Linked DNA regions of Homo sapiens: all the other regions are linked to region 1. Evidence: promoter capture Hi-C in 16 types of primary human blood cells and fetal thymus (Javierre and others, 2016). All regions are on one chromosome and are shown on one strand. The core of a region is centred on a gene start or on the middle of the fragment in contact, and the rest is flanking DNA. Distances in the headings are between cores, read along the strand shown.

Region 1 (4,075 bases), core at 1,343-3,842:
TAGCCTGCAAAGGGGTCTGGGAGAGGATTCTAGGTCGGGAGTACAGAAGAGCTTGGAGGAGTAAAACGTGACTTCCGGGCTTCCAGTGTGGGTTGTTGACCTGATGGTGTTGTTACTGAATACAATTAAGACTATCAGGAAGGGCAGGGGGAATGAGCTGAGGAGGGTGAAAAGTGATGTGTGTACCTTGGGCTCTGCTGAATGTGAGGTTCCCGTTGTAGAGCTACCAAGTACCATTGGGAAGGTTGTGCACTGCACAACTCTAGAAGGCACCAATTGTGTTTTACCTTGAAAGACACAAATCTGAATTTAAAACCTCACATGATGTTTAGGAAAAGCTGCCCATAAGCACTGGGTATGTGTCTAGTAGGTAGAGACAGGGCTGGGAGTCATTGATGCAAAGGTAGGGATTGAAATTCTGAGGGCAGGAGGGCTCTCTCAAGGAGAGTGTGCAGCGTGAGATCTCTGAGCGTCGACAGCTGCTGGGGAGCACCCCCCACCTCCGGGGCAGGCAGAGGAGGAGGAGCACTTGAGGACAGCAGAGATAAGCCGTGCCCATGCAGGCCCAGCGGAGCGCAGTGCCACGGAAGTCAAGGACTGGGATAAAAGAAGACGGGGGCTTGTGTGTCCCAAGCAACAGGGTCTGGGGTGACAAGGCCAGGAATGTCTCCTGGATTGGGCATGAGGAGGGCTTTGGGAACCCTGTGGAAACAGACTTGGGAGGAGGTGGAAGCCCGGCTGGAGGGAAAGACTGAGAAGAGAGGTTCGGCGGGAGTGAGGACAGGTGGGGCCAAGTCCTGGGCAGGCAGATGAGGCTGTGTGCAGGCTGTTGTCTCTGGCAGCACCCAGGGCTTCTGCATAGATGGCCGCTGGGGCCCCCCTCCCTGAAGGCCTGGATTCCAGCCACCCCGACTTGGCCCTCAGCCCACTCCTGGAGTTGGCCCTCTCCTATCAGCTGGTGTGTGTTCTGGGGATGAAAATTGTTCTGAACATCTCCTGCAGCAACAGATAGCGTTACGGGCTGGCGGCGGGTGTAATGGTGAAAGTGCAGTCCAGGCTGACAGGAGTTCAAATCCCAGCACCTTCACTTCCTGGCCTTGTGAACTTGGGGAAGTCACCTGACCTCTCGGGGCCTCTGTTTCCTCAGCTGCAAAATAGGGATAAAAATAAGCCCCCACTGAATGGCTCTGCAAACTAACGGTGTCATTTGTGAAGCGCCCAGCTCCGTGCCAGGCAGGGAACAAGGAGAGCTATGCGGCTCGATGGGAAACGATGCTGCCTAATCCACTGGTCAGCAAAGGCTAAGCACAGGCACGGTGTGTCATTTAGGCTCCCTGTCCCCACTCCTGCTAAGACATGCAGTTGGCAGGTGGCTCTGTTGGTGGCCTGGCTATGGTGCTGGGCTCAAGCGGCTGGAGTAAACAGGATGGGGTCTGTAGCACCTACAGTCTAGAAGGCTCTGCTACCCACATGTATTGGAAATTTCCTTCCTAGGACCACCTGAGCTAGGGCCTAAAACACAGACACCCCAGAGAGGTTGCACAGTAATTTACATGTACACCAAGGTGCACATGACTGATACCGGGTTCTTTCCTGGAGCCGGTCTTAATGGCCGGCTAGAGAATCAAGGTTGGAAGGAGGCAGAAAGGTGTAGAAAGGGAAGACTGCGGCCACCAAAATCCATTTTTTTCCCCAGTTCCTGGACAAGCCACCTCCTGTGCGCATGAGACGTTCTGTGGGTTCAGAACTGCTTCCCCTTTTTGGAATGTCAAAATACGCATTTCCTGCCAAATGCTTCGGGGAGCTGCGATGCTGAGATAACCCGGCTCCTCCAGGCTGCCTCATCTCAGCGATTATCCTGAAGGAGCACCCGCCCTTCAGGTGTCCCAGAAGCTGCTTGTCAGGCCAGGAAGACAGCAGCCCTGATGATCAGTTCTTCCTAAAGCCATCCGGCTCCTGGGGAGAGGCAGGTGGGACTCCAGAACTCACAGAGCTTTTGGGAGGAGAAAGAGGAGGCCGGAGAAGCAAAGGGCTTTACAGCAAGAGAGTGGTCAGTCGCAGCCACTGGGGAAAAGCCCAGAGGGAGGGCAGGGGCGGGAGGAGTGGGCAGAGGATGGAGGCCCAGCCCGGGAAGAAAGTGGGAAAGGGTGACCGGGTTTTTGGGGTGGGGTTGAACGTGATGCTTACGTTTCCAGAGGAATCTTGGCCTGTCCCCACGCAGGGGACAGGGAGGTGCCTAGAAGCAGCAGCCACAGGAGGGCCGAGGTCTTCTGCACAAAGGCCCAGGCCACGGGCATTGGCTGGAGGGGAATCCAGCGGCTGCTGGAGCTGGGGTTTGCGAGGAAGTTGGGAGTTGCAGGCATGGTGGGCCTGGGGTTGGGGAGGGGAAGGAGGGCAGAGCAGCCACAGACCATGAGCTCTGTCTGCCTTCCTCCCAGACCCCAGGACGCCCCAGGCCTTTGTCTTCCGTGCCTTGGCGAGCCTGGGGTCTCCAGCCTCTCAGTCCTGGGTGGGGAGGGCTTCTCTCTGCCCCACAGCTGCAGCTCACAGAAGAGTCGCCCCACCTAGCAAGCAGGCCTCGGAGACAGGGACTGGGGGAGAGGCTGTGGCAACATGAAACCCTTTAATCCGCTGGCCTCTCCTCTAATCCTCTCCTGACAGCAGGGAGGGGGTGGCAGGGGGTGGGGAGCTGCCTCCCAAGATTACCACAACTGCAGCTGGTTCCCTCAGGGCTATAGTGCACCCCTCTGCTTTAAAGAGGCAGCCCCGTTCCTGTGGAACCACCTTCTGGACCCAGGAAGGGCTTGCTGTGACTATGGCCAGAGGACAGCAGCTGAGTTTGCACAGTACTCTGATTGACCCACAAATCTCTTGTTGACCCTGAGGTGGGGGTGTGTCCTCATCCCTGCTTGGCAGAGGCTCTTGAGGCCCGGGGAGTCCCAGGGGCAGAGCTGGGACTCTGGCTGGTGTTTCCAGGCCTGGTGCCTTTGGGACAGGTCATAGGTCATAGGTGAAGTCAGTGGACCCACGCCTCCACATCTCAGCTGCTCGTGGGCGGGGCTGGGGACGCATTTGCTGTGCAACTGATGAAGCTTCAGGACCCCTGAATCCACAGACTCCCCCCTTTCCCGGAGAGGCCCTAGCAATGTGTTCCTGTGGCCAAATGTTTTTGTAAAATATGCAAAAGTTGAGATAGTTTAACCATAACCGGTTGAGACTGTCTGTCTCTTTCCATCCCAACTTCTCTTCCGTCTGAGGGACTCTTAGTTGGATGATGTTTGGGTGGCTGAGGGCACTTGGGGGATCCAGTTAAGAGGAAAGTGAGCTGGGGAAACACTTAATCTGGGCTTAGTGGGATATGCTGACATGGTTCACAGTGACTTCTTTGTACAGAGAAGTTACCTCCAGCTGAGTGTAGGCAGGGCTTCCAGGAACACTCATCCCACAGGACATCCCACCAGCAGATGCAGCAAGAGAGGCTGGGCCGTGATGTGAGCGCACGCTGTCACACCCACCCTGGCCATGTGTGGTGGGGAGGGCAAAGTAACAGTCAGGAGCTCATCTGCAGAAAATCTACAAAAAGCCACACAGGTAACATCGTTGGTGGAGGATTTGGTTCTCACCAAGGCCTGGCCAGGACAGAAGTTCTCTCCTGTTAGGAAAATAGTGGATATTGAAAGAATATAATTACACCGTACATTGCTTTGTGTTCTGATGAGAGTTACACAAATTAGAATTGATCAAAATTCTTGTGTTGTGAGCCCAAACCAGTAGTAGTACCACATGGGTTCTCCGGGGGTGAAGTCATAGATTTTATGCAGTCCCCGTATCAGATTATTTTCTTAGTGTAACTGGTGCACTGTGTCTTCACAAAATCTGGTGGTTCCAGCAAAATGGTAAGCAAAATTGCCACCAACGCAGAGAAATGCTTGCAGAAGCAAGTGTTCTGATGACAAAACTCCTACACAGATTCATCAATAAGTCAGTGCTGTAGTATCAGAGTAATCTGGTGGCACAGTTTTGTGGCTGAATACAATGTATTTTTTAAAGGCATCTAAATGATTCCTATGAATGC
Region 2 (3,768 bases), core at 398-2,897, 270 kb before region 1:
TGCTAAGTGTTACTGTTAGTTCTTTATTATGTAAGAATCTCTGCATTGTGTTTATACTAAAACAGTAAGTAAAGGGTGGGTGCTTTAATTCTGGTTTTACATAAGAAGTATGGGAGCTTGCCCATTTTTCTCTGAAGTAAGAAGATTTGGGCCCAGCAGTGAGGATCAGACGTCAGGCAGTGTGGAAGACTGAAGCCATCCACAGTTAATTTTCTAGCTTGTTGCAGAGTTTGGGCATTCCTCACGTAGATTCTCCAGTCCTTGCTTCCTCCCTCTTGCTGCAGGCCTTTTGGTCTTCATGCTGCTCATTTGCAGCCCTACCAGAAGCAGCAGTAGAAGACAGAGCTGAATCAGTTAATTTAGGCCTTCTAAGTCGTTGTGATAAACAACTGGGTGGGAGGAGGGATGGTTCCAATGAGATTTTAAGAATTACAGATGTATGTGTATTATCTGCTGCTCCACAGGAGAACTGAAAATAGACTGAAAGCTGCTCACAGCCAAAGCCAGAAGGAAACTGCAGTATTGACAGAGAGAGAGAAAGAGAGAGAAAGAAACAGACTCAAATCACTCGGGGCAAGAGAGGGTTTGCTGGTGTGGAAACCGGGTGGTGGGGAGGCTTTCAGCAGAATATCAGGAGGGGACTTCAGCAGGGACCCAAGGAAAGACGTGAAAGAACAGACACTATAGAAAAGGTGAACCCTTTTGATCCAATCTCACTGTAAAGCCAAAAGGAGTGAGTACTGTTTGAAGTGACCCTGGCCTCATTCCATATTGGTGCTCTGCCTGTTGGGTCAGCCAGCTCTTCGGCTGGTCCCTGATTTGGAAGTTACGTCTTTCGTATATTTATTTCCAGAGACTTCTTAGCAGCAGTTACGTTTCATAAGGGAAGTTTTGATACCTCTTTTGTTCCCTGCTATGTCTGCCATCACCCACAACAGTGCCTAGCACAAAGAAAGCACTCAATAGATATTTGCTGAGTGAATGAATGAATGATGTTTCTTCATGAACAGACAAGGAAACTGAGGCATAATGTGATTAACTGCGTGGTCCATCATATCATTTGTTCTATCAAAATTGCAAGTAATAGAAACCAATTTGAGTCAGATTATGAAGAAGGAGTATGACATGAGGGTCCCAAGAGTCTCAAAGACGCCAGGGTCTTCAGGAGCTGACCTGGACACCTCTGGATCCCTCTCCCTTCCTCCTCTCTCCTCTGAGGTCTCTCTCTCTCTCTCTCTCTCTCTCTCTCTCTCTCTCACAGTTCCAGCCCCAGGAAGGGACTCTGAATCTCTCCTGGTCCTTGTCCCAGATTCCCAGGAGGGGCTTCTGGTCAGGGCTCTGTCCACCATTGCATGACTTTGCAGCAGTTCAAGTCAATGAGTGGAGGGGCTGAAGAACTCATCAAGGTGAGAGGAACTGCTCACGTTCTCATAAATTTCTCGGCGGATGGTTAGATCCAGAGAACACATAATCCAGTTGGTGTGAATGAGACCCCTAAGTATTTACTCTGGAAATTCTCATGATAGCTTTACTGAGGAGTCTTTTATCTGTGAAAATGCATAATTATGGAACAAGTCCTGAGGATTGTCTAAAATAAGGAAAAACCTGAGCCCACTAGTGTGAAGAGGAAGGCTTCTGTTCTCTGAATAACCCAGGATAGGACACACACCCATTCATCTACCTTGCAGGGTTCAGGCAGCCAAGTTGCTAAGAAGCAGAGAATAGACTAGAGTCAGTGACAGCCCCTGGCTGGTATTCTGCCCTGCAGGTGCATTCATTTTTCAATACTGAGCTGTATTTGAAGGCCAGTCATCCCTGTGGATGATTTAAAGGTATCTTCCCTCTGACAGGACCACTCTACAGTATCAATTGCTTCCTTCATACATTTTCCTCATTCTTCAAGGTCTGAGCATGCCAAAAAGTAAGACCTGAGAGGGGTAAGGGTTGCCAGGATGTTTCTGCAAATCTTCCACGGCTCTTGGGGGCACCCAGCAGGCATTTGAAAACTGACTTACAGCCGGGTGTGGTGGCTCACGCCTGTAACCCCAGCACTTTGGGAGGCCAAGGCAGGCGGATCACCTGAGGTCAGGAGTTCGAGACCAGCCTGGCCAACATGGTGAAACCCCGTCTCTACTAAAAAATACAAAAATTAGCCGGGCGTGGTGGTGGGTGCCTGTAATCCCAGCTACTTGGGAGGTTGAGGCAAGGAGAATCGCTTGAACCCGGGAGGCGGAGGTGGCAGTGAGCTGAGATGGCACCATTGCACCTCCAGCAGCCTGGGCAAATACAGCGAAACTCTGTCTCAAAAAGAAGAAAGAAAGAAAGAAAGAAAACTGACTTACGCCCTGTGGCTGGCCTTCTTTTGTCCTTTTTGTTTTGACAGCAAAAGCCATATAGACCTTGAATGCTATGACAGGCAGGACACGTCTGTGAAATAGGAAATAATTACACTCACGCTTTTTAGGTGCTATGTTTCCTTCCTCATTTTATTTTCTAACATGCAAGTAAACTTTTTAATGGACCTAACGTCTCATCTGACAGATATCACGGCCTTAGGTCGGAGCAAATGATCAGCCTGGAACCCACTCCAGACTGGTCTGCAGTTCTGCATGTGACCACACAGTGTCGCTATCTTCTCAGTTCTAGCCGAATAGCTCTGGCCCGCACCTTGGTTCAAAAAAACATTTTTTTTTTTTTTTTTTTGGCTGGGCGCGGTGGCTCACACCTGTAATCCCAGCACTTTGGGAGGCCGAAGCGGGGGGGGGGGGGGATCACTTGAGGTCAGGAGTTCGAGACCAGCCTGGCCAACAAGGTGAAACCCTATCTCTATTAAAAATACAAAAAAATTAGGCAGGTGTGGTAGCCTGCACCCCCGTAATCCCAGCTACTGAGTAGGCTGAGGCAGGAGAATCGCTTGAACTGGGAGGGAGAGGTTGTGGTAAGTGGAGACCATGCCACTGCACTCCAGCCTGGGCGACAGAGCAAGGCTCTGTCTCAAAAAAAAATTGTAAATTTAAAAAAAAGTTGGGTGGTGTGTCCTTGCGGATTGATGGCAGAAAACAGAATCTGGAGAGCAGCAAAGCTGAGTTCTAGATTTTTCATTTGGATAAATGTGGGAAGAATTAGGTCAGTCTTATTTTACTTAGTTTTAAAAGAATGAGTGAGGAGGGCAATGCAGTTAGGAAAGAAAACATGAAAGGAATGCCTTGTCCTGCTCGGCTGGACCCTCAAGACACCCACAGTACTTTTCATGCTTGAAGATTATGATGAAGGAGGTGAGTAATAATTATAGCTACCATTTATTGAGTACTACTGTGTACCAGCTGCTTTACATACATTACATGTAATCCTCTCAGGGCCTCTGCAGTGTAGCCAATATTATCCACGTGTTTCAGATGGGAAAGCTAACACTCAGAGTGGTGAAGCGGCATCCCTCACCTCACACAGCTAGTAATTCATGCTGACTCCAGACCTCTTTCAGGTGGATTTCTGGGTAAGGAATCTGGTCAGCTGAAATAACAGGTGCCCATTTCCTTCTAAGTCTCAGGGAGTGTACAATAATCTTCCTCGTCTTGCCACCATGAATGTTGAATGAGAAGAGTGACTAGAGAGATTTCATTTGGTAGGGGCATATGGCAGGGGGAACTTGGGGATCCCAAATCTAAAGTAAACAGGCAAGGTGCGGTGGCTCATGCCTGCAATCCCAAGATTTTGGGGGTGCTGAGGCAGGGGGATCACTTGAGACCAGGAGTTTGAACCAGCCTGAGC
Region 3 (3,966 bases), core at 1,403-3,902, 290 kb before region 1:
ACACACCTGCCTGTTGGTGCCCCCGCCCCAGCCGAGGCTTCGAGAAGGAAAATCAAAAGGGGGCTTGGGGAAGGGCTGTGTCCCAGCTCTCCTGGACCCTGCTCGGGCCACTGTCCTCTCCTGGCGGCCCCAGGACAAAAATACTTCCCGGGCTGATGACCCGAAGCACCCGCCGCCCCCTCCCGGGGAGCCTGGGGACGCCGACGCGCGAGAGTGGCGCAGTGAGCCGGGGCGCGCGGGGCTGCGCTCGTCAGGTCCGGGGCCCCGGGGAGGCCGCTGGGGGCGCGGGTCACGCCCAGACGGGGGCCCCGGAGGACCGCGGGGGAGCCGCAGGGGCCGTGTGTCCCGAGGCGCAGGCTCGCTCTAGCAGCACTGACCTGCTGCGGGTCCCAGGGCCTGGGGACAGGGGCTCTCGGGGGCGGATAGAGGAACAGGCGTGGGTTACAGCAGGCAGGAGGCCAAGAGGCGGGAGGCCCGGGAGCCAGCAGGGAAGGGCTGTGGCATCTGGAAGATGCGTCCTCAGCTCAGGCATTTGATGCCAGAGCTGCCGCCTGGCGTCGGCAGTGTCCCCGGTGCAGCTGCTGGGCAAGGTACTCGGTGCCGCCCTCGAGGACCACGGTGCCGGGAGGGGCAGGGGCCGCCTAGGGAGGCACCACCTCAGCCGCCAGAGCTTTCCGGGCGGGCGGTTCGCGGCGTGGCTTGTACATTTCTCAGAGAAGCTGCCTTGAGAAAGTGAAAAGTCCTTGATCTGTACGCAGGGGTTGGGACTTAGGAAACCCGCTGAGGGTGAGAAGGGCGCAGATGGAGAGGGGAGACTCCTCCCTGGGTGCAGGTAAATCCAATTCACCAAAATGTTTTAATCCTACAAAGGAGAGCCTGAGGGTCAGAGAAATAAGTCTCTGGGCTGGAATGAGAGGTAGGCACGTGGGGGAGTGGATAGGATGGGCCCCATTTCTTTGGATGTTCTGCAGCAAGGACAGGTATGCTTTACAACAGCCGAAGTGGCCTCCCGGCTGCCGAACGGAGGAACGCCGCAAGCTCCGCTCTTGAAATTACTTGTTTTCATTTCTCTTTGTGGTTTCTCAGCTCATTATTTCTTTGGAAATTAGGTCCTGTGCAGGGTTCCCACAGTTTGGGGTAAGAGACAGAAGTCCTAGGGTGGGAAGATGAGCAGTGGGAGGCGGAGGCTGGAAAGAGGCCGAGCTTCTTTGTGGGGAACACGCAGCACGTAAGCATCAGTGCAACTTTCTCCGCCTCACCCCGGCTCCTGGTCTGCCCTTATCCGCTGAGTTTCCACACTGACTCTCCATTTCTGTTTTCTCCAGGGAACCCTACTCTGGAAACTGTCAGTCCCAGGGCACTGGGGAGGGCTGAGGCCGACCATGCCCAGCCTGCTGCTGCTGTTCACGGCTGCTCTGCTGTCCAGCTGGGCTCAGCTTCTGACAGACGCCAACTCCTGGTGGTGAGTAAGAGGGGCTGAGGTCCTGCCTGCACAGCCGGAGGCCTCCTTCAGCGACTGAGATGAGGAGGAAGGGCACCGTGTGTCACGGTAGTACCTTGATTCCTGGGAGTACTAAGGGCCTCTTTTATCCCAGGAAAACTAAGAACGCTCTGTGTCTCTCTCAACCCTTATCTTTGTAAGGGTTCCCTGAGGATAAAGGTTCCGTTCATTTGATTTTTTTCTCTAATCCTGTCCACATTCCTTTTCCTTGGACCTTCCCTCATGCCCATGAATTGTTAGAAATTGCTCTTGGGTCAACAAGAATATCAATACTTGGTAGTTTTTTGTTCCTTTGTTTTGTGTGTTTTGCTGGTAGGATATAGAATTCCTCTTTTATAAGTCTGAAGGCCAGATGAGGGGTTCACAGCACCATGGGTGGCTGGCTTTCTTCTTATGTTTTAAGGGCTGTTGTCATTGCCAAGTTGACAGGGAAATGGCAGGCGATCACCACCTATTTTGCATGGTCTCTGCCACTAGCATTTTTACTCAGATAGCAAATCTGCAGCCTTCTCATCTAACACTCTATATGGCTGGTAGATGATGAGCAAAAGGGAGAGCCTCTGAACTGGTGGAGAGTGGATGAGGGGAAGCTCAAAGTGAGACATGGCAGTGAAAACAAGTAGACTAGATCGTGATGTATGTAAAGTGATTGGATTTTAAAGGCCCAAAGGGAGTACCACGCAAAGGATTGATTGCTTTCCATGGCTTATCATGTACTTGGGCTGCACTGAACTAGTCACTCCTACTCATTGAATGAGGCCTGTGCTCTCCTGTTGAGGTTTGGCTCTTTTTGCCCTCTATTAAAATGAAGAGCTGCTCCCCACCCCTCGTCTTCTTATCTGCCTGACCCCCATTCTTAAGATCCAGTTCAAATTCTGGCCATTTCCTTATAAAGGCTTCTCTTCAGCCATAAGGGCTATTTTCCTATCTGATCACAGCAGATCCAGAAGCATATCCAGAGTCTGTCTGGGGCATTTGGCATCTCGCATGTCCTTTGTGTTCATGCCTCAGATTCCTTCAGTTTGTCCTTTGAAGGCCAGCACTCTGATTTACTAATTTTTCTTTCCAGGGCCTTGTACACAGGGACGCATTCAATAAATGTGTTGAATGAATGACTTAATGCTGCACACAGGCGTATGCTCACTCCTGGGCCTTTTTTTCCCCTTTCTGGATTGCTGTCCTAGGTCATTAGCTTTGAACCCGGTGCAGAGACCCGAGATGTTTATCATCGGTGCCCAGCCCGTGTGCAGTCAGCTTCCCGGGCTCTCCCCTGGCCAGAGGAAGCTGTGCCAATTGTACCAGGAGCACATGGCCTACATAGGGGAGGGAGCCAAGACTGGCATCAAGGAATGCCAGCACCAGTTCCGGCAGCGGCGGTGGAATTGCAGCACAGCGGACAACGCATCTGTCTTTGGGAGAGTCATGCAGATAGGTAAGAGGCCATTACAAGAGGGCTCGGCCAAGGAACTGCACTCGTCTCGTTTGGGAGCAATTAAGCTCTCTCAGGACTGGCACAGGGAGAGCCCAAAGGCAGCCTAAGTGGGCTCTCTCTAGGCTTGGCAGCAGTGTGCACCACGAGAGAGGCACACGAGGAAGCAGGCTCTGGGAGGCTGCAGAAACCACACGCTTGATGTTCCTCTAGCTCTCTGCCTTCCAGCCTCACTTGGGGCAGGTTGCTTGGGACTCACTGAGAGGGGGCAGGTTGCTTGGGACTCACTGAGAGGGGGCAGGACATCTGAGTTGACTTAGAGTGGATTAGGAGAGCCGCCCACCGCCACTGCCTTTGTGTCTCAGTGCAAAAAAGAGCCTTGGGTAGAGAACCAGAAATTGCAGCCCTGAATGTCTGTTGGATTTTTGCCTCTTCCACTTCAACCTTTGACAGAGAGATAGAAATGTCGGCCAAAGTGTTGATAGCTGTCACTAACCCAACCCCATCCAGTCCCAGCTTTTTCTTTTGAAAGAGATGTGTGAACATGGGGGAAGGGGTCAGACGAAAGAAAAGATGAGAGGGAGAGGGCCAAGTCTTCTGGATTCCTGTCCCTTCCCCTCTCCCACTGCTGGCCAAGGATTCTTGGGCCACCCTATTGCTTAGATGGAGGTGTGATCTGAGGTCTAATTGTTTTAGGTCCTTTTGAAATGCAATCCTCTCCTCTCTGGCAAGAAATTGAGAAATCCGGCCCTATTCTACTGGGTCTTATCCCCAGGGCCATAAAAGGGAAGTGTTAGAATGCTGTGTTCCTTCTGCCTGACATTCTCCCAGAACACCTCCCTTCAAAAGGTTACCTGAGGCTGGAGTTTCCCCAGAGAGGGATTTCAGCCTGGGAGGGGAGTTGGGGAGGTAGAGATTTCTTCGTGCTCCTCTCTTAGGGAGGATACTTGGAAGGCTCCTTCCCCCTCCCACTTATTCCAGACCTCTTTCCCTACCCTCTCTGTCCCATATTGAGAAGTAATGCCCAATGCAGTAG

Evidence for each region. Contacts are between HindIII fragments. The CHiCAGO score rates a contact against its expected background, and 5 or more counts as called.
Region 2: a contact is called between a fragment that was not itself captured here and the fragment with the promoter of CACNA2D4 in region 1, in 5 of 17 cell types (neutrophils, non-activated CD4 T cells, monocytes and 2 more). The highest score is 7.8, in neutrophils.
Region 3: a fragment that was not itself captured here is called in contact with the fragment with the promoter of CACNA2D4 in region 1 in 4 of 17 cell types (activated CD4 T cells, megakaryocytes, fetal thymus and 1 more); the score reaches 5.9 in activated CD4 T cells.

The regions. Positions count from the first base shown.
Region 1 is chr12:1,916,060-1,920,134 of GRCh38, forward strand. CACNA2D4 (calcium voltage-gated channel auxiliary subunit alpha2delta 4) reads right to left here and starts at 2,593. Exons shown (of 38, transcript NM_172364.5): 1 at 2,188-2,593. The coding sequence starts at 2,414. RefSeq lists an enhancer at 666-1,242. The HindIII fragment of the contact is 3,790 bases long and covers 1-3,090 here.
Region 2 is chr12:1,650,385-1,654,152 of GRCh38, forward strand. No RefSeq gene overlaps it. Among named protein-coding and RNA genes, the nearest start is that of MIR3649, 8.1 kb to the right of the region's middle. The HindIII fragment of the contact is 5,972 bases long and covers 1-3,768 here.
Region 3 is chr12:1,629,973-1,633,938 of GRCh38, forward strand. WNT5B (Wnt family member 5B) reads left to right here. Exons shown (of 5, transcript NM_032642.3): 2 at 1,326-1,462; 3 at 2,686-2,933. The coding sequence starts at 1,383. Among named protein-coding and RNA genes, the nearest start is that of WNT5B, 2.7 kb to the left of the region's middle. RefSeq lists silencers at 177-366, 397-456, 411-705 and an enhancer at 887-986. The HindIII fragment of the contact is 5,946 bases long and covers 1-3,966 here.